Regions from separate parts of the Homo sapiens genome. Here all the other regions are linked to region 1. The links are contacts of gene promoters, found by promoter capture Hi-C in blood cells and fetal thymus (Javierre and others, 2016). All regions are on one chromosome and are shown on one strand. The core of a region is centred on a gene start or on the middle of the fragment in contact, and the rest is flanking DNA. Distances in the headings are between cores, read along the strand shown. Region 1 holds the start of CCT4 (chaperonin containing TCP1 subunit 4). Region 2 has its middle 5.9 kb from the start of UGP2. Region 3 holds the start of REL (REL proto-oncogene, NF-kB subunit). Region 4 holds the start of WDPCP (WD repeat containing planar cell polarity effector).

Region 1 (6,408 bases), core at 1,722-4,221:
TACAGGTGTGAGCCACCACGCCTGGCCTAGTATTTGTAATCAGCTTATGGCAGAATACATTTTGAGGATTCATCTCATCTTCCTTCAGATGTCAAAATGGTACAATCTAGTTAGGAGCTCTGAGAATTGCTATTTCCTCCATTCCTAAAACAGGACAAGCAGCAACAGAACTGTCTAGATCTAAAATACTGATGGAGGAGTATCCTTTTTCCAAAATGATTAGGACCAGAAGTGTTTTGAATTTTGGAGTATTTCAAATTAGGAATGCTCAATTTACAGATAATTCACTTATTTGTTTACTCTGTCTAGTATGTAATCTCTGAGAGCAAAGACTTTTGTTCACTAATGTGAACATGGTAGATAGGTGGCCCGCCAACACCGCCAAAAGGGCAAACCACAATGGAAATGCTACAGAGCAAGATACTCTTCTAAAAAATCCAACAAGGCTGGGCGTGATGGCTCACACTTGTAATACCAGCACTTTGAGAGGCTGAGGCGGGCAGACCACCTAAGGTCAGGAGTTCGAGACCAGCCTGGACAACATGGCGAAACCCTGCCTCTACTAATACAAAAATGAGCCGGGTGTGGCGGTGCGCATCTGTAGTCCCAGCTAGCTACTCGGGAGGCTGAGGCAGGAGAACCGCTTGAACCCAGGAGGCAGAAGTTGCAATGAGCAGAGATCACACCACTGCACTCCAGCCTGGGGGACAGAGCAAGACAGACTCCATCTCAACAAACAAACCAAACCTAACAAACCAAACAAAAACCAAAACTCTCAAATCATAGCTTTTGGTCATCATCAGTATGTTATAAAACATCTCTGGGGCCGGGTGCGGTGGCTCACGCCTGTAATCCCAGCGCTTTGCGAAGCCAAGGCAGGCCGTCACTTGAGGCCAGGAGTTTAAGACATAACGGGTCATCTTCACAGATAACTTAGGTGGCCTTTCCTTCCCACATGCACACCCTCCTCTGTTGTTTCAGTTCTTTGTCTGCTTTTGTTTCAAAGGTTGCTAAATTTCCCACTTATTTTGTTTGTTGAATATCAACCATATTATAAACTCTCTTGGCCCCCAAATTTATCTTTTTTTTTTTTTGAGACGGAGTTTCGCTCGTCACCCTGGCTGGAGTGCAATGGCGCGACGTCAGTTCACGGCAACCTCCGCCTCCCAGGTTCAAGCTATTCCCCTGCCTCAGCCTCCCGAGTAGCTGGGACTACAGGCCTACGCCAACACACCCACCTAATTTTGTATTTTTAGTAGAGACGGGGTTTCTCCATGTTGGTCAGGCTGGTCTTGAACTCCTGACCTCATGTGATCCGCCAGCCTCAGCCTCCCAAATTGCTGGGATTACAGACGTGAGCCACCCTGCCCGACCCAAAATTTATCTTTCAACATTCTGTTCCTAATCTAATAAATGTAAGCTTCAACTATGGTCCCTAGACAATTATCCTACAAACCTTCGTTTCCAGGTGTATTATCTCCTAAACTTACAAATGACTCCTAAATCTGGCCATTCTGACCTTTCCAACTCATTAGGACAAGTTAGAAACTATTACTTTTTCTTACATCCAGCGTTACCTATCTTAGCGCCATCACATTCCCAGTTACTTGGGCTGATGACTGCAAACACATGTAAGGTGTACTTTATATACGTGGGTCTTTATATGCTTTCTCACTGAATCCTCACAGCAAGCCTACACGATGGCTAAAAAGAAATGATCCCATAGCTGGGGGAGATTAAGCCAAATACTTTCCAGGACACCAGGCCTTTAACATCTGCCCCAACCTAGCTTTCTAATCTCACCTCTTCTGTAAACATACTACTATTCTCCAACCCAAAAGAACTACTATACTCAATATACACTCGGGCAAGATCTCTAAACCTCTGTCCTGACTTTTCCTTCCAGATTTTTCTATTTCAACTCGATTTCTCTTAATCTTAACTCTAAAAAGCAAACATTTTCCTCCAATTTTATAAGTGAATCTTTGGCACAGAGGTTACAGGTCACTAAGACATGAAGTAACGGAAGCAGAGAATGAAACTCTGGTCTTCCTGATTTCCAACGTGTGCCACACACTTCCACAAAAAAAACAAATAATTGTTTCTTGATTTGCCTATGTTTCACTGCACATGCGGAGACGACATCAACGTAACTTTTCCGCAACTATTTCAAACACGACACGTAAGTCGGTTCCCACATCCATCCCAGTACAATGGGCCCCGCCCCAATTTAGACTCGGAGAGTTCACCCAATTCGTCTCAACAGTTGTGCCAAGTGAAGTTTATTTAATAGTTCTTTAAATAAGAATAACAAAGCTGAAAGATACTGTGCATTCTACCAGTTCCAATAAGCAATAAGCGACAGCCCTCAAGCGTCAGATCCCTAGTGAAGACTGCATGCAATCCTCGGCATTTTGAACTGCTTTCGGCTCCAATATGAATGATGCACAGTGCAGGATGAAAAACTAAGGGAGATTAAGATGCAAAATGGGGCAAGTCCAAAGGCCTCCATACTCCGGGTTGGCGATCATCGGCAGAAAAACAGAAATAAGGATCCCTCCACTGGGCTGCTTCTATAGGGAGGACAAGAGAGGATCACCCGAAGAAATGGGAAATGAGCCAAACCCGCTCAAGCCCACGATGAGAGCGCAGAGCACAACCCCGCGGCGCCGCGGGTCAGGCCATGAGAGTGATACCTTTGGCGGCGGAAATGTTGCTGAAGCGGATCTGGGCTGGCTTGTCGCGGTCCTGATAGGCGCCTTTCCCGCGGCCGCCGGCAGCCCCGGCAGTCGCCCCGCTCCGGGGTGCCACATTCTCGGGCATGGCAAACTCCGCTGTGTCTGGGTTGGCTCGGGAAGGACGGATGGACCCGGATTCTGGCCGGCCGCAGTGTAATAACGGTAAGCCCTCACTGCCTTCACGAACCTTCCAGAAAGCGGCGCCGGCGTCGGGAGGAGGCGGAGGCGGAGAAGGGGGCCTTCCTTGCCGCGCGGCGCTGGCGTGACGTAGGAGGCTGTCCGCTGCGCGCCGGGCGAGGAGGATGCGTGCGGTGGGCTCCGGGCTGGCGAGATTGTACGCCCGGGGCGCTGTGGGTGAAGAGCGCCGGGGGAACCTTTACGCGAGGCAGCAATGACAACGCGCGATTTTAAAGGCGAGTGGTGAGGACATCCGCATTTCCTCACTCCACCTTGCACGGCTATGAGGTCCCCTCCTTTTTTTTTTTTTTTTTTTCTTTTTTTGGATACAGTCTCACTCTGTTGCCCAGGCTGGAGTGCAGTGGCGCAAAATCTCGGCTCACTGCAGCCTCCGCCTCCCAGGTTCAAGCGATCCTCCTCAGCCTCCCGAGTAGCTGGGATTACAGGCGTCCGCCACCATGCCCAGCTAATTTTTGTATTTTTAGTAGAGACAGGGTTTCACCATGTTGGCCAGGCCGGTCTCGAACTCCCGACCTCAGGTGATCCACCCGCCTCGGGCTCCCAAAGTGTTGGGATTACAGGCGTCAGCCACGAAGCCCGGCCTTTTTTTTTTTTTTTTTTTTTTTTGACAGAGTCTCGCTCTGTCGTCCAGGCGGGAGTGCAGTGGGGCGATCTTGGCTCACTGCAGCCTCGACCTCCGGGGCCCAAGCGATCCTCCCGCCACAGCCTCCCAACTAGCCAGGACGACAGGTGCCCGCCACCATGCCTAGCGAATTTTTGTATTCGAAACATAGCGAGACTGGGTTTCGCTGTGTTGCCCAGGCTGGTCTGACCTCCCCGGCTCAAAGCGGTCCACCCTCCTCAGCGTTTCAAAGTACTGGGATTACAGGCGTGAGCCACCGCGCCCACCCGGAGGTGCCCTCCTTTAACTCCGGCTGGATCTATCCGCGAGGTGGGGTGGGCGCCGGAATAACTCTCTAAGGGATATGACTGAGTCTGTTTTTGCCCGGCCACATAGACCTGCATTTTATGCAGTTTTGTTCATTTTGAAAGGGAGTCAGAAAAGGGAGATTTGGAATGAGGCGAGGTTAGTTATCTCGTATTGGTTGATACTGGGTGGTGGAGGTTTGACAGACTGCCAAATCAGGTCTGTCTAGTTACCACCGCCCGCTTGTTCTACACTAGTGTCTCCTGCATGACGTAGCCACTGACTCTTAGGGAACGTAAACATTATAATAAAGATCATTTATTTCCGTTATCTGCTAAGCACAGTGCTAAACCTTTACACGTTTTATATCTCGTTTAGTCCTCACAATAATCCTTTACTTAAAAGGTGAGAGAACTGGAGCCCAAAGAAGGAACTGAAGCCCAGGGTAAACGAGTCAGTAGATAGAAGCAGTATTCCAATACAAAGCAAGGACCAGAAGCCATGAGCTAAACTGCTGGTCTCCTATGACCACTATATTTCAGTAGGGAAGTTTATGAAATGAGGTTTGTTGAATGTTCGCTCACAATTATTAAGCACCTGCAAAGTGACAGTTGCGTGTGGTAGGTTCAGAAACAAATGTTCAAAGGTACTTAATCTTGTAATTATGAGGTGGTGGTGGTGTTGTTTGTTTGTTTGTTTTTGTTTGTTTTTGAGACGGAGTTTCACTCTTGTTGCCCAGGCTGGAGCAGTGGCACCATCTCGGCTCACCGCAACCTCCGCCTCCCGGGTTCAAGCGATTCTCCTGCCTCAGCCTCCCCAGTAGCTGGGATTACGGGCATGCACCACCATGCCCGGCTAATTTTGTATTTTTAGTAGAGACGGGGTTTCTCCATGTTGGACAGGGTGGTTTCGAACTCCCGAGCTCAGGTGATAGGCCCGCCTCGGCTTCCCAAAGTGCTAGGATTGCAGGCTTGGCGAGAGCCACCTCGCCAAGTTGTTCTTTAACACACATTTAGCATATTAGCACTAGGGGCCTGGCTCAGTAGCTCACGCCTGTAATCCCAGCACTTTGGGAGGCCGAGGTGGGTGGATCGCTTTAGGTCAGGAGTTTAAGACCAGCCTAGCCAACGTGGCGAAACCCCGTCTCTACTAAAAATCAAAACATTAACCGGGGGTGTAATCCCAGCTACTCGGGAGGCTGAGGCAGGAGAATCCCTTGAAGCCAGGAAGTGGAGGTTGCAGTGAGCCGAGATTGCGCCACTGCACTCCAGCCTGGGTGATAGAGCAAGACTTTGTCTCAAAAAAAAAAAAAAAAAAAAAAGAAGGATATTAGCACTAGGAAATGAAGATCCATAAACCTCTGAGGCCGACTTCTCTTCAGAGGACCAGAATACTCCCAAGTAGCACATAAATTCTATGGTTATTTGTTTAGACAACTGATGTAATATGTTGGAAACAAGTGGGTGATGAGGAAATGCATTAATTTTGGGATGTAAAATACTGGATTTGAGTTTATTAATAGCTCTGCTACTTATTAGCTATGTGACCTAAGGAAGGCCACTTAAATCCTTTGGGTCTCATTTTCCTCATCTGTAAAATAGGAGGGTTGAACTAGATGATCTCTAGGGGCTTACTAAACTACTAGTTCTACCAGTGTAAGGAGTCGATCTGTCAGCCATAAAGGACAGAGCAGAATTTGGAAGATGCCATTATTGGCTTCTTGGGAGAGTCTTAAAGTTTTGAGACATGCTTTAAGTATCTGAAATGTTTCAAGTTACAAACATTTCTTTTTCTGTGAAATTGGAATTATTTTTGTTCGTGGGATTAGGCAGTAAATAAATGTTAAACATCGGCTTTCATCAGAGTGTTAATGTACATTATTTCTCCATTAAAATGGGATTTCAACAAATATTAAAACCTAAACATGGCCGGGCGTGGTGGCTCACACTTGTAATCCCAGCACTTTGGGAGGCCAAGGTGGGTGGATCACAGGAGTTCAAGACCAGCCTGGCCAAGATGGTGAAATCCCATCTCTACTAAAAATACAAAAATTAGCCAGGCGTGGTGTCAGATGCCTGTAATCCCAGCTGTTCGGGAGGCTGAGGCAGGAGAATCACTTGAACTCGGGAGGCAGAGGTTGTAGTGAGCCGAGATCATGCCACTGCACTCCAGCCTGGGCGACAGAGTGAGACTCCATCTCAAAACAAAACAAAAACATAAACACTTGTGTAGAGTACTTTAAGCAAAGCACTGTTGCTAATGAAGGGTAAAAATGTTTTTAAAACTTTCTGATATTTATTTTTTATTTATTTATTTATTTTTGAGATGGAGTCTCGCTCTGTCACCCAGGCTGGAGTGCAGTGGCACAATCTCGGCTCACTGCAAGCTCCGCCTCCCGGGTTCACGCCATTCTCCTGTCTCAGCCTCCTGAGTAGCTGGGACTACAGGCGCCCACCACCAAGCCCGGCTAGTTTTTTGTATTTTTAGTAGAGAGGGGGTTTCACCGTGTTAGCCAGAATGGTCTCGATCTCCTGACCCGGTGATCCGCCTGCCTTGGCCTCCCAA
Region 2 (6,887 bases), core at 3,150-5,649, 1.9 Mb after region 1:
GTGTTATAAAAGTACATTTATAAGTTGATTATTTGCCATCCAAAACATGTTTCCAATAGAAATAATGGGAAAACTCTAATATACACCTATACAGTACTCTACAGTTTTTAAATTCATTCATAAATATCTCATTTGATAGTTCATTGAACAAATTTCTTTTGAGTGCCTATTATGTGTCAAGCACTATGATACACTCTGGGGATACAAGAGAGACATGGTCCTTGCTCTTAAAGAGCTTATAGTCTATGAAGGGGAAATAAATATTTAATAAGTTATAATAGTAAATCAATTAATAACAATAACTTGAGATTAATCGTATGATATGGCAATACAGGGAATAATCATTAGCTGAACTTACACTCTGTGCTAACAGAGTGAGAAGATCTTTATAATAACTCAGGCCGGGCACAGTGGCTCCCACCTGTAATCCCAGCACTTTGGGAGGCCAAGGCGGGAGGATCACTTGAGGTCAGGAGTTCAGGACCGGCCTGGCCAACATGGTGAAACTCCATCTCTACTAAAAATATAAAAACTAGCCAGGTGTGGTGGCAGGCGCCTGTAATCCCAGCTACTCAAGAGACTGAGGCAGGAGAATCGCTTAAACCCGGGAGGTGGAGGTTGCAGTGAGCTGAGGCTATGCCACTGCACTCCAGCCTGGGTGACAGAGTGAGACTCCATCTCAAAAAACAAACAAACACCTCTGTATTATATAATAACTCTCTGTCTGGTGAGACAAGCTATTAGTTGTTATTCTCATCTTTAAGTGAGGAAATTAAGGTTCATAAGGTTATCTAAGTAATTTATCCAAGGTTACTCAGGTTCTAAGTGACAAAATTTGAAATAAAAAAAAAGACCTATTTTCCAAACTCTGCTTTTTCCAATGTACTCCTCTGCTTCCCTAGACACCAATATGCGAAAACAGAAAAACACCAATAAATTAAAACCAACCAACGAACCCTTACATGATGGTACATATTTTGTGGAGATTCTTTTGAAGAGACTTCAGTGTTTACAGTTTCAGAGATTGACCATGTAATATATAGCATACCTAATCTAGAATATCATCTATAATGTTGAGGAATTTTGCTTACTTCCTAACTCTTTCTAGACCCAGAATCTAGACTGTTATCACTTGGGTTCACTGGGTTGAGAAAAAGTCATTTAAAAAATAATATAAGAAGAGGTTCTTTAACATGACAATCTAAAGACAACAAAAAGGATTTTAGATGAGAATGACTAAATTGAATTTCCACTATAAGAATGAACTATAGTATGGTCAGTTTACTAAGCAATGAACTTAATTAGGAATATATACACCTTGCTTGGCCTCAAATTCTCTTTAGAATAAGAAAGAATATAAATTATAAATAAATATATGAACATGTGTAAGTGTATGCCAACATACACACACACACACACACACAAATTTCAAATAATTATCAATGTGGTTTTATCACTGTTTTATTCCTTCTCACTAGGAAACTGGTAAAACCTTCAGCCTAACATAGCTTAAGCAAAGGTCTATCTGTATTCTTTTTTCTTTCATTATCCTATTACTCCATTTGTGACTTTATCTGGTCTCCATTCCATGCTGGTCTGTGTTAGAAAGACTTACATATCAAACAGCTGAACGTCTCTCAGTCTGTCTGTGATGCTCCAAATCCAGACAGCAGTCTTCAATAAATTTCTATTACCCAAATAGTCTGTTTTTAATTTGTTGCTGTACAGATCCATGCAAAGCTAGAACTTCAGTAAGTTGCTGACCTCTTAACATTTTCTTTGTAAACTCTTGTTGTAAGTCACTGATAATTGAGAATGGCCTCTGTCTTTCTCCTAGTACTGCTCTCTGCTCCAAATTCTCATTTTTTTTTTAATATGCTGCTCAGCAGTTGTGAGAGAGGTAATATAGACCAGAATTTTCTAATTATATGTTTTGAATGACTTAACGCTGTGAAGCATATTGATTCTTTCAGGCCTGGGGCACGCAAGTTGGGAGCCCCTGGCCTGGTTGCAGTCCAGCTGCTAGCAGCATTTACCAGAGCTTCCTGGAAGGTGGCCAAGAGGAGCAGCATCTCTACAGGTAGAGTGGATGATAAAAAAACATCTAATAATTCCACAGGCCTCTTATCCAAGGTGAAGAGTGGTATGTTCAGTAGCTGGTTCCTGAAGTAGATGTCCAGATAATGGAACACCTACCTCCTTGGCTGTGCTCAGCACATTGCAGCCAACATGGAGCTCCTGGATGGTGCAGCTCTGGTGGCTCTGAAACTCTGATTTCGTAGACATCGGATATTTTTCGTTAGCAGCTGAAGTGCCCTTTTTGTGGCATCCAAAGTAGTTTTGGTCTGACTGATCCAACAATGCATGCATGTTTTATAAATTAAAGCTTCATCATTATTTTAAAGTACTTTCTAGAAAAAAGTACTGCTATTCATTATTGGCATTTTGGTACTATCTGGATTTTTTTTTTAAGCTGTGTATTCTTACTGAAATTTAAAAAAAAAATTGAAGTGCAATTTAAAATGGCACCAGAAGCCAGGCGTCATGGCTCAAACTTGTAATCCCAGCACTTTGGGAGGCCGAGGTGGGCGGATCACTTGAGGTCAGGAGTTTGAGACCAGCCTGGCCAACATGGTGAAACCCTGTCTCTACCAAAAAAAATACAAAAATTAGCCAGGTGAGGTGGCAGGCCCCTGTAATCCCAGCTACTTGGGAGACTGAGGCAGGAGAATTGCTTGAACCTGGGAGGCAGAGGTTGCAGTGAGCAGAGACTGCACCACTTCACTCCAGCCTGGGTGACAGAGCGAGACTCCATCTCAAAAAAAAAAAAAAAAAAAAAAAGAAGAAAACAGTATTACTAGAGAACTTCAGTCATTAAGAGATTACTTGTCCCGGATAAAGGCCTGACCATTTGCACTCCTTTCTGTTTTGATGGAGAGGGGTAGCAAATCAACCTCCAGAAACCGAAGGGAGAAAATTTTCCTCCCTGTGGGTTTTTGGAGTCAGATAGCTTCAGTTCAGATCCTGGTTCTGTCACATAGTAGCTATGTGATCTAAAAAAAAAAATTAAATAAAAAAAATAATAAAATGGCACCAGAACTTAACATTAGTATTTCATATTTTTTCCTGTAGTTTTTTCTCTAAATATGACATACCTCCTCTTTTTCATTAGAGAGAAAAAGTAGTTACCTTTTATTCTCTAATCATATTATCCATCTAATGACATAGAATTATTCAATTATTTAATCTTCACCCAAAAAGCAGTCCTGAGAATCTTCTCTTTATTTTATTTTTATTTTTTGAGACAAAGTCTTGTTCTGTAGCCCAGGCTGGAGTGCAGTGGCGTGACCTCAGCTCACTGCAAACTCCGCCTCCCATGTTCAAGTGAGTTTTGTGCCTTAGCCTCCCAAGTAGCTAGGATTACAGGCGCCTGCCACCAAGCCCAGCTAATTTTTGTATTTTAGTAGAGAAGGGGGTTTAATCACGTTGGCCAGGCTGCTCTCAAACTCCTGACCTCAGATGATCCACCAGCTTTGGCCTCCCAAAGTGCTGGAATTACAGCTGTGAGCCATTGCACCCAGCTGAGAATCTTCTCTTTAATATTTCGTTAGGTTGGTGGGTGTGAAATGCTTAAAATACATTCCCTGAGACTAAGTTAGGAAACAGAAGTTCTTTATCCTTTCCTTTCCAGTGGTGGCACTAGCAGGAAATTTAATAAACTAGACCAGAGGCAGAGATGTTTAGAAAACCATCAAAAGTCATTTGATGGAATGCACAACAGGGAATCTTTCATATAGTTGAAAGAGGCAGAAAAAATAGAATTAAACTGAATGCTTTTCTCTTTCACAACTCTTCTCTGTGAGGATTTGAAAGTCAATAAGTAACCTGAACTTCTATACATATATCACTACAGTAAATCAAAATAATATTTATTCTATGAGTTTGGTAAAAGATGGTTTCTTATTAGTTTTTTTATCTTTTCAAATTATAATCACATAACAATCTACGCTTGTTAAAAACCCTGAGAGAATATAGGGAGTTTATTTATGTTTTTTCCTGGGCCATTCACTAAAGGGAATGGCTCTATTGCCTCTATCATCAAAGGGGCGGACACAATTTGGAGATACAGTTTTGCACATGAGAGAAATACAACAACCTCATGGGTGTCACCATTTCTCACCAACACTCTCCTCTGGGGAACATGCAGAACAGACTAAACAGAAAACAAAATAGTAAGGACCTGCTTCCTTCAACTTTCAAAGGAGAATCTAGAGGGGAATTATTGATAAACATGAACAAGATAATGTATGTTTTGATTAAACATGCTTGGGAGCCTAATGACTTTTAAAACCACTTAGAAGATTGGTTTATGAACCTTTAATTAACTATCCATAATGTGAACTAACTTCATTTTTTAAAGCATCTCAGTTATTTGAAATAATTGCTACTGCTCTGATGTAAAAGTTATATAACTCTCAAATATAACTTAAAAATCATACTGTGAACAAATGGAAGGATATGTCATAATTTAAATTCACAACTTGTTTCAGCAAACTTCCTGGTTCATTAACAGGGTGTTGGCAACAGGAAAGAATGAAGTCTTTCTCTTCCTCAAGTATTTGGAAACCCATTCATTTTTAGACAACTCATTCATTAGTAGTCCATCTCATAGATATAATTTGATATCTTTTTCCAGTTAAGCCCGTTTGGTTACCTTTTTACTCAAGTGAAATGCCCTATTGTTAGATGTAGTCAGTTACTGGCAACTGCTGACTGAGTAACAGTAGCCCCTTTTTCCTCTCTCATGTGGGTGGCCTAGGATTTAGATGGGTACAGATGGGAGCCAATATTGAGTATGGGCAACAGTCCAGTGGATAACTGTTGCCTGGTCTCTTGGCTAAACACTTTGGGCATGACACAGAAATTTTTATGTCTAGTACATGTTCGCTCAAACTACACTGCTTTATTTTCTTGAATGTAGAGGATAGGCAAGAAAAAATAAAGGACCACACACATTGATGATCTGTATACTTATTTCATACCTTTAACAATTCCTACACCACTCCTTATTAGATAATGCTCATGGGTAGTTAACACAGCTTATTGTAAAGTCATCAGGGCATTTGCTGCTATTATTCTTATAATTTGGCCCAGGTTCATCTCCTAGGTGGAAATAACTGAAACTTAAAAAACGTTATCTCTAAATATAAACTTTTTATGTTTTATATGGCTCTCAAAGAGCAGAGAGTAGGGGCGGGCCTGTGGCTTACGCCTGTAATTCCAGCACTTGAGGAGTCTGAGGCAGGAGGATTACCTGAGGTCAGGAGTTTGAGACAAGCCTGGCCAACACGCCGAAACCCTGTCTCTACTAAAAATACAAAAACTAGCCAGGTGGGGACCTGTAATCCTGGCTACTCAGGAGGCTGAGGCAGGAGAATCCAGCTACTCAGGAGGTGGAGGTTGCATTGAGCCGAGATCGCACCACTGCACTCCAGCCTGGGTGACAGAGCGAAACTCTATCTCAAAGAAAAAAAAAAAGAGTGGAGAGTAGGATACAACACTGTGAGTTAAAATGATTTAGTGGCACTAAACTGGTCATTCAATATATACTTATGGAATGTTCGCTATGTACCAGACACTGTGCCAAGCATTAAATCTAAAAAGGCACCAAAAAAGATGCTTAGAAATAGGACCACAGACATGGTTTCCTTGCTGTTGATAGAGAGCTCCTGTCTAAAGCAAAGGAAAAAGATATGGTGAGGTTGTTATACATCCTAGGATATGGGACTGGGTAAACCAAACTGAGTTTCCTCAAGTTTCTATGGGAAAGTAGAAAGAAGGAAGAAATTATAGGCAGAATTTGTATCATCCGTGGATGGTCGCATATGGAACCAGACAAAAACTGGCTTCCAGGCTTTCTTTCTAATTCACAATCCATTTCACTCCAGCTCCTTAACCCTGTACACACTCTTATCAGCCCCCATCTTCATTCTTTGGATCCCCCCACCCCAGGTTTCTGCAAAGGTAAAATCTATAAATCTACCGATGTTACAGATTTCTAATGATACAGATTATCAACATCATGCACCTTGAAGGGATATTCCAGAGTAGTATCTTATGAAAAAAAGGATTAAAGATACACATACTTGCCCAGAGAAAGCAATTTTTCAATGACTGAAATATATAAAGGGAAATAGGTAACTGCTTTCTAAGCATGTCTTTGCTCCATGGCCATTAAGAACTCCACCTCTTTCTTTCCTATCTCCACAGGATTTGTCAAGTGAGGTTGTTCTTAGTGGCTCTGAGAGAGTGGGAAGCTCGCTTACAAAGTGTTTGTGGGTTCAAAATTTAAATTTATACCGATGTATAAAGAAATTTCATTTTATAAGTACTGTTTGGAAATATTTGGAAACTAAGCTTCTAGAGTGCTACTTCTCTAAGAACTAGTGACTGAGTAGTTACAGATGTAGCCCCTGAAGATGGGTAGTTAGTTACTTTTTGGAGAGTTCTTGAGGCAGCAAGTGTACAACAACCTTTGGTACTATATCTCAATATTCAATCACTCATAAATCAAGATGCCATTCTTAGATATTAACAAATGCTCTTGCTGCAATTAAAACCCATTTCCTTTTTAATCTTCCATGAAGGCAGAAAATACAGTAACTGATCATCGTTTCTTATAATAAACCTTGTATAATTAAAAACTCGCCAGGCGCGGTGGCTCACGCCTGTAATCCCAGCACTTTGGGAGGCTGAGGCAGGCGGATCACAAGGTCAGGGGTTTGAGACCAGCCTGGCCAACATGGCGAAACCCCGCCTCTACTAAAAATACAAACATTAGCCAGGTGCGGTGGCACGAGCCTGCGGCCCCAGCTACTCGAGAGGCT
Region 3 (6,287 bases), core at 1,891-4,390, 1.0 Mb before region 1:
CTAACAGCAATATCAAGAATTAAAAAGAAAGCAATTTCTAGGAAAATAATATCGACTACAGTATGTAAATGCTTGGGCATAACTACATCAAAAGACATAATGGGGCCAGATGCAGTGGCTCATGCCTATAATCCCGGCACTTTGGGAGGCTGAGGCGGGAAGATCATTTGAGCCCAGGAGTTCGAGACCAGCCTGGGCAACATAGCAAGACCCCGTCTCTTAAAAAAAAAAGACATAATGGGTTGGGTGTGGTAGCACGGGCATGTAGTCCCAGCTGTTTGGGAGGATGAGGTAGGAGGATAGCTTGAGCCCAGGAGGTGGAGGCTGCAGTGAGCTGTGTTCATGCCAGTGCATTCCAGCCTTGGTGACAGAGCAAGACCCTGTCTCCAAAAAAAAAAAAAAGACATAATGAAGTTGCCAGATGTTTGTACTTGTACCTAGAATCAGTGTGAATGCAAGTGCTGCAAATGCAGCCTGATACTACTGTGGTTTTTTGTTTGTTTGTTTTCTGAGACACAGTCTTGCTCTGTCATCCAGGCTAGAATGCAATGGTGTGATCTCGGCTCACTGCAACCTCCACCTCCCCAGTTCTAGCGATTCTCGTGCCTCAGCCTCTCAAGTAGCTGGGATTACAGGAGCACACCACTACGCCCAGCTAATTTTTGTATTTTTAGTAGCGACAGGGTTTCACCATGTTGCCCAGGCTGGTGTTGAACTCCTGACCTCAGGTAATCCACCCGCCTCGGCCTCCCAAAGTTCTGGGATTACAGGTGTGAGCCACCACAGCTGGCATACTGTGTTGTATTGATGAGCTGTCAGAGTTACAATTTTCCAACTTTTAAAACATTTTTTAATAAAAGTCTGCCCTCAATTTATACAATATTTGCATTCCTGGGAAATTCAGTATATATTAAAAACCATACAAAAATATTTTATATCTATATATGAAAGGGAGTTGTGTTCTAACCATATATTATTAAAATAGGCATTTCAACTACATGAAAGTGAATGTTTGATGAGACGTTTGAAGGTCATGAGGATGAGGGACAATTCTTGACTGTGCTCTTTCCTATCTCAAGGACCTGCTGCCTGCTGTTCCCCCAGCTGGAATGTTCTTTCCCTGAATCTCCCTGTGAATGGCCTTTTTTTTTTTTTTTTTTTTTTTCTGAGACGGAGTCTCGCTCTGTCGCCCAGGCTGGAGTGCAAGTGGCATGATCTCGGCTCACCGCAACCTCCGCCTCCCAGGTTCAAGCAATTCTCTACCTCAGCCTCCTGAGTAGCTGGGGTTACAGGCGCCCGCCACCACGCCTGGCTAATTTTTGTATTTTTAGTAGAGACGGGGTTTCACCATCTTGGCCAGACTGGTCTTGAACTCCCAACCTCGTGATCCACTTGCCTCAGCCTCCCAAAGTGCTGGGATTACAGGCATGAGCCACTGCGCCTGGCCGGCTCTTTCTTAAACTGAGGACTCAGCTCAAATGTCACCTCCTCAGAACTTTCCTCTCCCCCAGTCACTTTTCATTTTGAAATTCCTTCAGAGAACTGAAAATGTTTTCCGTCTCTTTGAAATGTATGTACATATTTTAAAAAGCTAAATAAGCCTCTTGCTAGTTTTGCGTCCTCAGAAGGTCTTTCTTGCGGGCCTCGGAGCCATCTCTTGGAAATGTGAACATCAAGGATGGTGCTCCATGTTTCTGTCTCTAGGAGGGTTTAAGCCTTGGCTCTTGGTTCCAAGATAACTTCCCATTATTTTCCTTTGGATAAAGACAATTAATAGGTATGTAATGGATTGTACGTGCCTGACCATATGAAAAGGTGAGATTTCCTTTTTTTTGGTCTTTGCACTCTCTTCAGTGGATTGCCTGTGATGTGCATCATGGTACGTTTTAGTACATATCCAATAATAAAACTGTTTCATTCTTTTGTTGTACATTGCGCATTTCGTGGAAAGAACAGTTTGGGGTTGGCAGGATATTTTAAATTATTTGCCCATATGGGTCCCCCAGTTTTGGGCACTTGTATGGCAGGCTGATATTCCCCATTACCTCTCCGTACTAATTTTAACTAGTAAGGGACAGGGGCAAGGGCATGGAGCTTTGGAGTCAGACAACCCTGGCTTTAAACTGTGCCTTTTATCAGCATTCTGAAGTACTGTATGTTGAAGTAACTTCTCTGAACCCCGAATACTTCATCTATAAAGTTAGGAATAATAAATACGTCATAGATTAAGTATGGACATTATCTGATGCATAGCAGGTACTATTCAAATGAAGGAAACGAAGTTATCCTAGGTCCTTTAATGCACTAAATGTGTGCTCCATTTCCGCCTTTCTTGGCATCTGTGTGAAATCTCAGGATATAGTGTCCACTAAACTTCAGTGCACTGCCTAATGAGACAACGAACTCCAAGTGCGGACCTTTTGAGTTTAAACGGGTTTCAGTAGGTAAAATACGTAAAGTTCACAGTACCCTCGCAATTTAGATGGAGGAAAAAAAATCAGTCGGGGGGGGGGTCCCCGTATGCAAATACAGGAATTACAGAAGAAGACAGGACCCCCGCCGCAGCACCACTTCCCCCTACAGGGCGCAACGTCCCGCCGCTGGCGCGGGGGTGGAGATTTGCATGTGCGAAGTCGGGAAGAGGGGGAACCACCTCTCGAAAACCCCGGCCGTCGCCCTCCCAGGCCGGGAGAGTCGGCCCCGCGCGCCCCCAAAAGCTCCCCAGCGGCCGGCCCTCTCTACGTCATCCGCACCCTCCCGCCCGCTCCTGAACTTTAAACCACACTCGGAAGAACAACCTGGAGGAGGGGGATTTCTCAGGAGCCAGCGGCCTTCTCACGCTGCTAGCCGTCACCTCCCGGCTCCCGCCGTTCCCTGCGCTCCCGAAGCCCACCCCAAGCTCCCGCTCCCTCGACCCCCTCCCAAGCCAGCCGCCGCAGCAGCGCCGGGGGCGTATGCGTGGGGGCCGGCGGGGAGCGTGCGCGGGGACAGGCAGGGGCGGGGCGCTGGGGGCGGTCGCGCGCGCGGCGGCCGCGAGGTCGCCCCGCCCACGCCTCCGGGTGAGGGTTGCTGCGTCGGGCCTACGTCAGCCGCGGGAAATTCCCCTCCCGCCAGGCTGCTCGCCTCTCGGCTGGGCCAGCACTCGGCTCTCCCCGCTCCGCCCCCTGCCCCTGGCTCCCGTACGGTGGACGGCGACGCTGGGTGACCCGGGGTGCAAGAATTCAGGGGTTGGGAAGGTGTGAGCCGCAAACCCAGCGGAGGGCGGGAAGAAGGAGGAGGCCTCTAGGGTGGTCGGGGGACTGGGGGCCCCGCCGGCAGAGGTCCCTCGGCCTCCTGACTGACTGACTGCGGCCGCCTCCGGCCAGGACGCTGGGAGCTGCCTGCGGGAAGGTGCGGGGAGCGGAGCCATGGCCTCCGGTGAGTGTTCATGGGGCGCGGGCCTGGGCCGGGGGAAAGGAGCTCTTCTGAAGGGGGTCCTGCCGCAGTGAGTTTAGGGAGCTCAGTTTTTGCTGGGGCGCGTTCTGTCTTTAAAATCTCATATGGTAAAATTGTCAGCTTTTAAAAAAGTTACCTGCTTCAGGGTTTGCGTGCAGAATCCAAGCCACGCTCTGTAATTCGATCCTGTTGTCATAGCAGGAACCTTAGAAATTCCCAACGACTTGATTTTAGGATTAGGGAAGTCATAAGCGAACCAAAGGAGGACGAAGAGTTCTCATTAAAAATGTATATGTATTGAAGATGGTGGTTTTATGTTTTAGAACAGGAATGAGGAACCTTCAGACCTCGGGCAAGCTCTCTCCCCCTTTTTAGTTTAATTTCATCAAATGCAAAGAGGTGATCCCCCTTGTACTGACAGTTGTACAAAATGTGTCACGGCTTTAAAAATCATCCGTGGTATTTTAACACGAATTAGAAAATCCGTGGTATTTTAAGTGTTAATGTTGCTTCGACCAAGTGTAGGCCGGGCGCGGTGGCTCATGCCTGTATTCCCAGCACTTTGGGAGGCCGAGGCGGGTGGATAACCAGAGGTCAGGAGTTTGAGACCAGCCTGGCAAACATGGTGAAACCCCGTCTCTACTAAAAATACAAAAATCAGCGGGGCGTGGTGGCGCGCGCCTGTAATCCCAGCTACTCGGGAAGCTGAGGCAGGAGAATCGCTTGAACCTGGGAGGTGGAGGTTGCAGTGAGCCGAGATCGCGCCCCTGCACTCCAGCCTGGGCGACAGAGGGAGACCCTGTCTCTATTTAAAAAAAAAAAAAATGTAGTTTTTACTGTGAGATAAAGCTCAAGGTTCCTAATCTGACGAATAGAGACGTTGAATCCCCCTTCCTCCTCGCTGGAAATAAGGGGAAAGAGGAGTTTTAGAATATCCGAGCTTTAAAATAATGAGTAGGAATGAATACAACTTTATCACTTATGTGACTATATATTTTCCCTTAATAAATGCTCGATCTCTCCCTTTGGGGGGGAATAAGTTTGTAAGAAACATTGCAGAGCAAGAAAGTCTCCTATATACACAGATGTGGTTGGGGCTGCCTGGAGCTTAAGGTTGAGGGGGACGGGAGAGCCGGGGCGGGGGGATAAATCAAGTAGCCTGGGGTCGAGTTGGTCTTTTACCAGGATTTTGGCAAGGTGAGTGGGGGACACTTTCCAGACAGAGGAAGCAGCGTGAGCAAAGGCAGGGAGGGCTAAATGCATGTTAAATGCTGTACTAAGAGAATGAAGAGGGGGCCCCGTTTATGAACTTGACTCTTATCCCCAAACTGCCTGGTCCAGTGACCCTCAGAAGTAGGCTGATGTCTAGTAGAGATGAGGAAGTAGGAAGCTTAAAGAACCTTTTTAAAAGGTTGAGCAGAACAATGCCATAGCTATTGCTGTAGGCAGAAAAGGAAATTGGGGTGTTTCACATGACATTTGATTTCAGTTTGTTTGTGGTTGTGAGAATACTAAGTGTAGTTTAAAATATTTCAACTTTCCCTTTTCCCACTTAAGTGACACCAGACTTTCAGATAATCGTGTAAATTTATGAATTCAAAGCATGTGTAGATTAGAAGTGCTAAGATGACTTCAAATATTTTGTTAATGTATTGGTTATCAGAAAGATTTTGTTTGGAAGTAATGGAGAATGCCTAGCATTATAAGTAAGTTCAGGCTCTTGGCGATTTAATCAAACTTTATTGATATATTGCATGAATTTAATACTTCTAATTTTTTCAGTTGAGAGAGGAAACAACCATTTCTATATAGAGTATTGTAAGACCCACAGGATTTTAAAATTTGATACAATTTAAATTTGTTCATTGACACTGTATTTTGTGCTGTTGTGAGGAGGAAGGATTCCCTAAAAGTAAGGAGGAAATGTTTAAAGAAATGGAAAGTTTTAAAGGTTTAGAAGTTGAAGGGTGATTAACTTTTTTTTTTTTTTTTTTGGTCTTTTCTAAGAGTTGCATTAAAATGGGACTATTTAAAATGTAACAAGTTATTTAAATTGTAATTCAGTTGTTAGAAAACTGCCAGGCCTGGAATAAAAAAAAAAAAATGTTTACAGGAATCTGTGTACTTTTCCTTAATCTGTTATAAAGACCTTAGAGAAAGAAAAAGATTCACTAATAAAATTCTAAATTCCTATTCTGTTTTGAAACAGTAATTTAACCGGAAGAGTGACCAAAAAAAAAAAAAAAAAGAAATTGCTTAGTTTTTCATTGTCTAGTTTAGATTCTGTTTGTAGTAAGGTAGTATTAAAACCTCAGAAAGTAACTTTTATTCATTACGAAGTATTTAAGAGCATTTCTTCATTTCTTACCAGATGTCATATGTAAATAGGTATATGTAGTTGAATATGTGATAGCTATAATGTAAAAGTAACATAAATCATAATCTTATAAGCAAAATTATGTAAGTTAGAATGTAGTTTAAAATCATGTATATAATATGATTCTAAATTTTGTTTAGATAAGTTAGCAGATTAATTAGGATTTCACAGCTTGTATTAAGCTGCCTTTCGTTGCTTTTTAAAAAAATTACACCTTGATCACAGTCTTTTGACATAATTAATAATAGATATAGTGAAGAAAAATGTTCCCAAACCCATCTAAGGTATGCATAGTAGGCAGTTGTTGCTTTTGTATATTTATTCTATTTAATATAAGTAAAATTAGATATTTTATGTCTGAATTTAAACCTTCTCATTGTTCCAGTAAAAAGAGCAAAATGTCTTTGTGTGGCATATAGCTCTGTTAACTAATAATTAGTGCTGTCTTTGGTAAAATGTTTTAAAATTTAGATAA
Region 4 (6,242 bases), core at 2,517-5,016, 1.7 Mb after region 1:
TTCCAGATATAATGATCACTCTGTGTTATTAGCCTCATTGTATTAATAAATGAAGATTTATAGAGACCAGGAAACTTGTTCAAGGTCACACAGCTAGGTAGTAAAGTTAAGACCAATAAATTCTGCTCCTTTCACTTGAAAAAAACTCAAGGTTAGGTAGCTCATACTTCTGGAAACATGTAATTATCAAACAGAATCCTGATGAATAATGTTTTATCTTGTTTAACTAAAGTTAAAAGAGGAGGTCCTAGCAAATTATTCCACTCAATTCTACCACTTGACCACTCAAAGCAACTTGACTACGTAATGATCATGATTAAAACTTTTATCCTATTAAAATATCCTGTATTTCACCATTCCTGAAAATTCCAGTCAAATGTTATAGTTTAAAATGTGTACAAATTGTGTATGTATAAAATTGTAAGACATAGTAATAAAGTGGTTCTCATTGAGACTACAGTTTTAAATTAAATTACAAGCACTTTTATTTTTGCCATAACTAAATTTGGAATTACTACGTTTAAGATTCACTAAAGTGAATGTAATAATTATTTTTAAAATACTACATATTCATTTTAAGAAATTACTTGAGAATACTTTCAAAAATGTCCTGCATGTCACTTAAGCCAACAAATAATTTCCAAGATACCTAGCATTACACTTAAATTTTAAAAAGGGTAAAAAGCCAAAGTTTTTTTTTTCAGCTAAGGTCAACTATTTAGCTCTGCAATCTTTCCTTTAAAAAATATTTGTAATAATTTGGTCTCTGATTTATTTCACAAGTCTTAACCTTGCTTTATAAATAATCCTATTTTCAATCACACTCCATTATCTAACATGGCTGTTTACTAAATACATGATCCTATGGTAAAGTACATATTTCTAAAAATGTAGCTACTTAGACAGACAGCAATGTAAAGGCATCTTTACATTATAGTACTCTCTAAATATTACATTGTTACTTTCAACAAAAAGGAACCAGATTATAACAAAATTGTTATAAAATAGCTTAAAAGTGTAATAGAACTTCATTAAAGAAAACATTAAGATGAATGAGTTTTAACTAGATCTATAACAATTTTATATATGCTAGAGATAAAATTAATATGAGGTTAAATAATTTTCTTTTTTTTTTTTTTTTTTTGAGACAGGATCTCCCTTTGTCGCCCAGGCTGGGGTGCAGTGATGCCAGTGCAACTTCTGCTTACTGGGCTCAAGCAACCCTCCCACCTCAGCCTCTTGAGGAGCTGGGACTACAGGTGCACAACACCACACTCAGCTAATTTTTTAAAAATTTTTTGTAGAGACAAGGTCTCAGTATATTGCCCAGGCTGGTCTCAAACTCTTCGACTCAAGCAGTCCTCCGGCCTTAGCCTCTCAAAGTGCTGAGATTACAAGTGTGAGCCACCACGCCTAGCTGTGGTTAAATAATTGTATACTATAAAAAAGCATAAGATCTTGTGAGTTCCAAAGTGCCTTGGGTATCAAGAGCCAACATTCTATTTCAGAGATTTGAAACTTAATGATCCTTTAATATCTTTGCTGGATGTTGTTAGAATGGTATTTCAAACATTTTCTACAATTTGAATTAAATATTACCTTACTAAATAACGCGAGGCTGGGCAAAAAAAATGTTAAGCATAACTCCAAATATAGCATAACAGTTTAATGCTCTGTTTGTTGCCTTAACAAAAAATGAATGTCTGCAACACATTCACAAACCACCTGGAGATTCAAACTCACAGTGAAAGTGCAATGACATATTGTGCTACTTGACATTAGCTATTACCAAAGACGGTTCAAAAGGAAGAGAACACAGACAATCTTATTAGTATAATTGGAAATGTGCTGATATACCCACCTTACCAAACATCTTCTCTTGCAGTGTATTATATTACCTGAGAAAAGTAACTTACAATCAGTGCTAATATGCTCCTTAACCTGATTTACAAGGGCAACTAGCAATAAACAGAACAAGGCCCGTGAACTACCACACAGGTGACTTCAATTCTGTATATCTGGACTGGATGGGAATACGGGGGCTTACATGTTTGTGGCCTTCTTGGAGTATGGGAATGTCCTGTCCTGCTATAGGACTGCAGTGAGAATTCTGGTTATAAAAAGTCTCCCTTGTAAAATTCACTGTAAATCGAGGACAAAAATCATGAGATTGTTTTGTTATACTTTAAGTTCTAGGGTACATGTGCACAACGTGCAAGTTTGTTACATATGTACGTATACATGCCATGTTGGTGTACTGCACCCATTAACTCGTCATTTACATTAGGTAAAATCATGATATTTTTAAGGACAACAACATGGAAAAATCTTTCTGTTAGCAGCTAGTAGAAGAATTCATTTAGGAGGATAATGGAAGAAATTTTTCGTAACTGCTCAGAGTAAAAAGTAAAACTCAGAGAACCTAGGTTTGAGAATAATGCACACCTACTAATTCAGGACTAGACACATAAATTTGAGAGTTTTTGACATTAAAAGTAGCATTTGAAGTGATGCAACTTATGAATTAGCTCACTGAGGGATTTAGTATAGACAGAGAATACAGGCACCCCAATGTTAAGAGATCACAACTAAAAAAAATTTAGAAACTCCGCAGAACTGAGAACCAGTAACAAAAGAGGAAAACCAGGAAAGTATGTTGTCTGAGAGCCAAATGAATAAAGAGATACAAGGAGAGTCATTCAGGTATGATATTAATAAATGCTAAAAGTAAAGCATTACATTTCTTTCCAAAAATAGCAAATCCTCCAAACTGAAATAGAGAAAAATTGAAAGATATTACTTGGCATTCATTTATCAGTGACAGAGAAAAAACGGAAGTTCTAACAATGTTATCTAATAGAGATGTTTTATTCATTTTCATTACGTATATGCTGTGTATGCTACTCCCGAGCATCATATCTTCCTTTTAACATCCACAAGAAACAAGCTTTCAAAAAGCACAGCAATTCTCTTGGCAGCATTAATTTTAAAGAGAACCTCTTAAGTTGTTTTACCAGCTGAGACTGACTGACTAAACAACCAGTGTCTCCCCTTCAGTCGCCAGTCTTTCCTTAGAAATGCCTGTTTGGCATAACTTTAAGACTCAAGATGGTTTAAGGCGCATCCTGTTTCTTCCAAAAGGGAATGGACAAAACTCAACATTCACGGAGGGCTTAGAGCAAATTAGAACCGTATACTGTGACCTCCTGGAAGGGAGAGGCTCACCTCCTACAAAGTAAATGCTCAATAAATATTTTTGATATAACTCTGGAAGAGCTCCATTTGGGGTCGGGGGTGCACCTACTCCAGGGCACCACCCCCTCCAAAATAGCTGCATTCCCACAGCCCTCATACTCCGCTCAGAAAAGGGACCGGCGAGCTTGCAGGCATCCGCACAGCGGATAAAAGCAAAGCGGGACGGCGCACCAACCGCATTCCGGATCCTAAGGTTAAAAGAAAACCCCTTGCCCTCGGGCCAGGGCTCACCTGTCTCGGGAGTGGGGAAGAAGCGCGACTCCCGGCCGCTTTGGAGTAGGCGTCCCAGCAAAACTCTCGCCTCATCACCAGACACTACCCCGGGCAGAAGGTTCCTAGGCTAGGTCCTCGGACCCGAGAGGGAGCGACACGCTCGCTTGGTCTCTTGGGTCTCCAGGACGCCGCCGCCGCCGCCACAGTTTCCTCAGGTGCTACAAAGCAGCCAGGGTGTGCGTGCGCTCCCGCCTCGTCGCTTAGCAACCTGAGAAGCTGTCCGGTCGTCCCAACTTATCAATTCCCCCGCCCCTCCAGAGTGTCAATCGTTTTTTAAAAGATTTTGTTTCCGGGTCGATCCAGCTTTACGCAGCGGAAGGTCTCTTTACCTCCCACGTTTACCCTCATGGGAGGATGCAGTCTCAGTCACGCGCGTGGGGGTGATGTCGCTAAGGGGTGATTCTCCCCTCCCTAGAGTTACACACGCTATCTCTCCCGCCAATTGCCGGGCTCCATCAGGCAGGTCCTTTCCTCCTGAGCCCAAACCATCCGTTTGTTGTCGTCCTCCAATCACAGGGGCTCATCCTCAGGGACTACTTTGCAATCGGCGCAGAGCGCAGTGAGAAGAGCTTGAAAAAAACCTCTGGTATCGGGAAGTGTAGTTCAACACTTGAAGGAAATGCTTTGGAGATTGCGCCACAACCAGGGCAGCGTAAACTACAGTTCCCAGAGAGCGCCGCGTCGGGAGCGGAGCCTTTTCTCGCTAACACCGCTCGCCCTCTCCGAGTCAGTTCCGCGGTAGAGGTGACCTGACTCTCTGAGGCTCATTTTGCAGTTGTTGAAATTGTCCCCGCAGTTTTCAATCATGGTGAGTGTGGGCCCCGGGTTCCTGCCCACCTCTGGCCCTCGCGCCCTTGAGTGGGGTTTCTTGCACTTTAGGGACTTTTGGGAGGCAGCTGTGCAAGGCACTGTCCTTCGCGCCCTTTGGCAAGCTCGGACTCATCTTCTGGGGATTGCCGCAGTGACCCAGTAATGGGAAGGGATTGATTTCCACCTTGCGGGGTATGGGGCGCTCTTAGGAGGACTCTGGAGAAGTAGTTGTCCTGGGAGAGGAGCGATCTTAATCCTGCTGCATGACGGGAGGACAAAATGCGACGCTGCAGCTATTTTCCAAAGGACGTTACGGTGTTTGATAAGGACGATAAGGTTTGCGATGGGAGGGAAAGGTTGGGTCCTAACCCCTTTTTCTCCTCATTTGCCCACAGTGTTTATAACGGCTTTTGTCACAGGGACCTTGAAAGCAAAAAGCTGGAAAGGTAGTATTTACCAGGTGCTCCAGATTACGATCTGCGTTTGCAGCAGACGTGTTTCCGCCATATCTAATTTCTCAAAATGTTATTTGGAACCCGTTCATTGACCTTTTTTGTAATGCCAGGATATATTGAAGTGACAGCATCACTAACTAAATAACTACTGCAAATATTCTTTATTGAACTGTATATTGTGAATTCCAGAAGCACCTCTCTTAAATGTAACAGAGTAACCATTTTGTCATGGAAGACCTGGGTAACCTGCATCTCCATCGCTTGTCTCTGCTGAAAGAGAGGGGGAGGGGGAGAGTTGGTGAAGGAACTCTGGCGTAGGAATAATCTGCGTACTGCTTGAAGGTGACATTTGTCATCAAACTCAGAGAAATCGCTTCATACTATCAATACAATGGCTTGTATTTATAGTTGCGACTGTTTTTCCTACTTTATCTGCAAAATACTAAAACGGCTGGAGAATGTGGAGAAATGTTTGAATGAATTGGAAATTTCCCAGAACCTGAAAAGACACGTTTTCAAGGCAAGGGCATTACTCTCTCTGCCTGTCTAACGGGGCCAGTGGAGACAGCTACTAATTTCCAGTAGGTGTTAAACCTAGGTTTCCTAAATGTTTTGTCACATAATTAGTCATTTAAATTATGGTTTCGGTAGTTTCTGTCCTAATAACCTTAGCTAGAAAGCAGAGGTACTTATTATCTGATAACCTTGGACTTTTTGCTTTTAGAACTGAATGGGATCTTTTAAAGGTCATCTTGACGAATCTCCCCACTTCAGATCTTAAAATGGAGTTTATCGAGACCCAAAGAGAATGTGATTTGCTCCAAGAGTCTCACACTCTTGCCATTTTTCTATATTGTGTCTTACACTTACCAAGTCTTTCTGAATTTTTATTTTTATAGGGACCACCGCAGTGAGGTCTCGCAGCGGGGGAGAGACAGTGTACTCAACTCCCTGAAAACTTATTTTTACTAGCTGAGATTCCGGATGAAGTTACCAGTTCATACTGCATATACAAACTCAAATATGTTATCAGCATGTAGATTACTTGATAGCTTTATTCCTTGCCATTCAAAATACTGGAATTGTAGAATTAAAAGGGAATTTGGAGATTATATTATCTACTCTTATAATGTAGTCTGGTGAGGTCAGATAATTTTCCCAAGGTCACAGAGATTTTGGGCCCCAGATTCTTAGCTAGTTTCCCTAGCAAGGCCCCACCGTTGGAAGGTCACTGGGGTGCCAGATAACACAGAGACAGAACATGAGGAAGAATTTGTCTGGCAGTTTGCTGGAACTGACAGCAAACTCACACATGACTCAATTTCCCTGCCCCCTCAGGAGGGTGTGTGAATGGACAGAGTTAGAAAAGAGCCTTCTTCTGTAAGCTCATTCAAAGCGGAGGATTCTTTGCTTGTTGTCTGTAGGGAGTGACAGCAAAATAAACTGTAT

Evidence for each region. The method cuts DNA at HindIII sites, captures the fragments that hold promoters and counts their contacts. A CHiCAGO score of 5 or more calls a contact.
Region 2: a fragment that was not itself captured here is called in contact with the fragment with the promoter of CCT4 in region 1 in 1 of 17 cell types (neutrophils); the score reaches 6.6 in neutrophils.
Region 3: the fragment with the promoter of REL here is called in contact with the fragment with the promoter of CCT4 in region 1 in 3 of 17 cell types (naive CD8 T cells, naive CD4 T cells and total CD4 T cells); the score reaches 7.4 in naive CD8 T cells.
Region 4: the fragment with the promoter of WDPCP here is called in contact with the fragment with the promoter of CCT4 in region 1 in 10 of 17 cell types (naive CD8 T cells, non-activated CD4 T cells, total B cells and 7 more); the score reaches 12.7 in naive CD8 T cells.

Annotation. Positions count from the first base shown.
Region 1 is chr2:61,885,685-61,892,092 of GRCh38, forward strand. It overlaps CCT4 (chaperonin containing TCP1 subunit 4), which reads right to left and starts at 2,972. Exons shown (of 14, transcript NM_006430.4): 1 at 2,697-2,972. The coding sequence starts at 2,823. It also overlaps a transcript of COMMD1 not described here. RefSeq lists enhancers at 2,000-2,561, 2,562-3,121, 2,663-2,742, 3,682-4,241. The HindIII fragment of the contact is 8,675 bases long and covers 1,419-6,408 here.
Region 2 is chr2:63,832,572-63,839,458 of GRCh38, forward strand. It overlaps a transcript of WDPCP not described here. Among named protein-coding and RNA genes, the nearest start is that of UGP2, 5.9 kb to the right of the region's middle. The HindIII fragment of the contact is 4,031 bases long and covers 2,385-6,415 here.
Region 3 is chr2:60,878,434-60,884,720 of GRCh38, forward strand. REL (REL proto-oncogene, NF-kB subunit) reads left to right here and starts at 3,141. Exons shown (of 10, transcript NM_001291746.2): 1 at 3,141-3,417. The coding sequence starts at 3,408. REL-DT (REL divergent transcript) reads right to left here and starts at 2,881. Exons shown (of 3, transcript NR_033980.1): 1 at 2,799-2,881. RefSeq lists a silencer at 2,736-3,275 and an enhancer at 2,884-3,553. The HindIII fragment of the contact is 7,860 bases long and covers 1-4,823 here.
Region 4 is chr2:63,584,711-63,590,952 of GRCh38, forward strand. It overlaps WDPCP (WD repeat containing planar cell polarity effector), which reads right to left and starts at 3,767. Exons shown (of 18, transcript NM_015910.7): 1 at 3,487-3,767. The coding sequence starts at 3,561. MDH1 (malate dehydrogenase 1) reads left to right here and starts at 4,253. Exons shown (of 9, transcript NM_005917.4): 1 at 4,253-4,336. The coding sequence starts at 4,334. RefSeq lists enhancers at 2,932-3,452, 3,964-4,283. The HindIII fragment of the contact is 5,833 bases long and covers 2,946-6,242 here.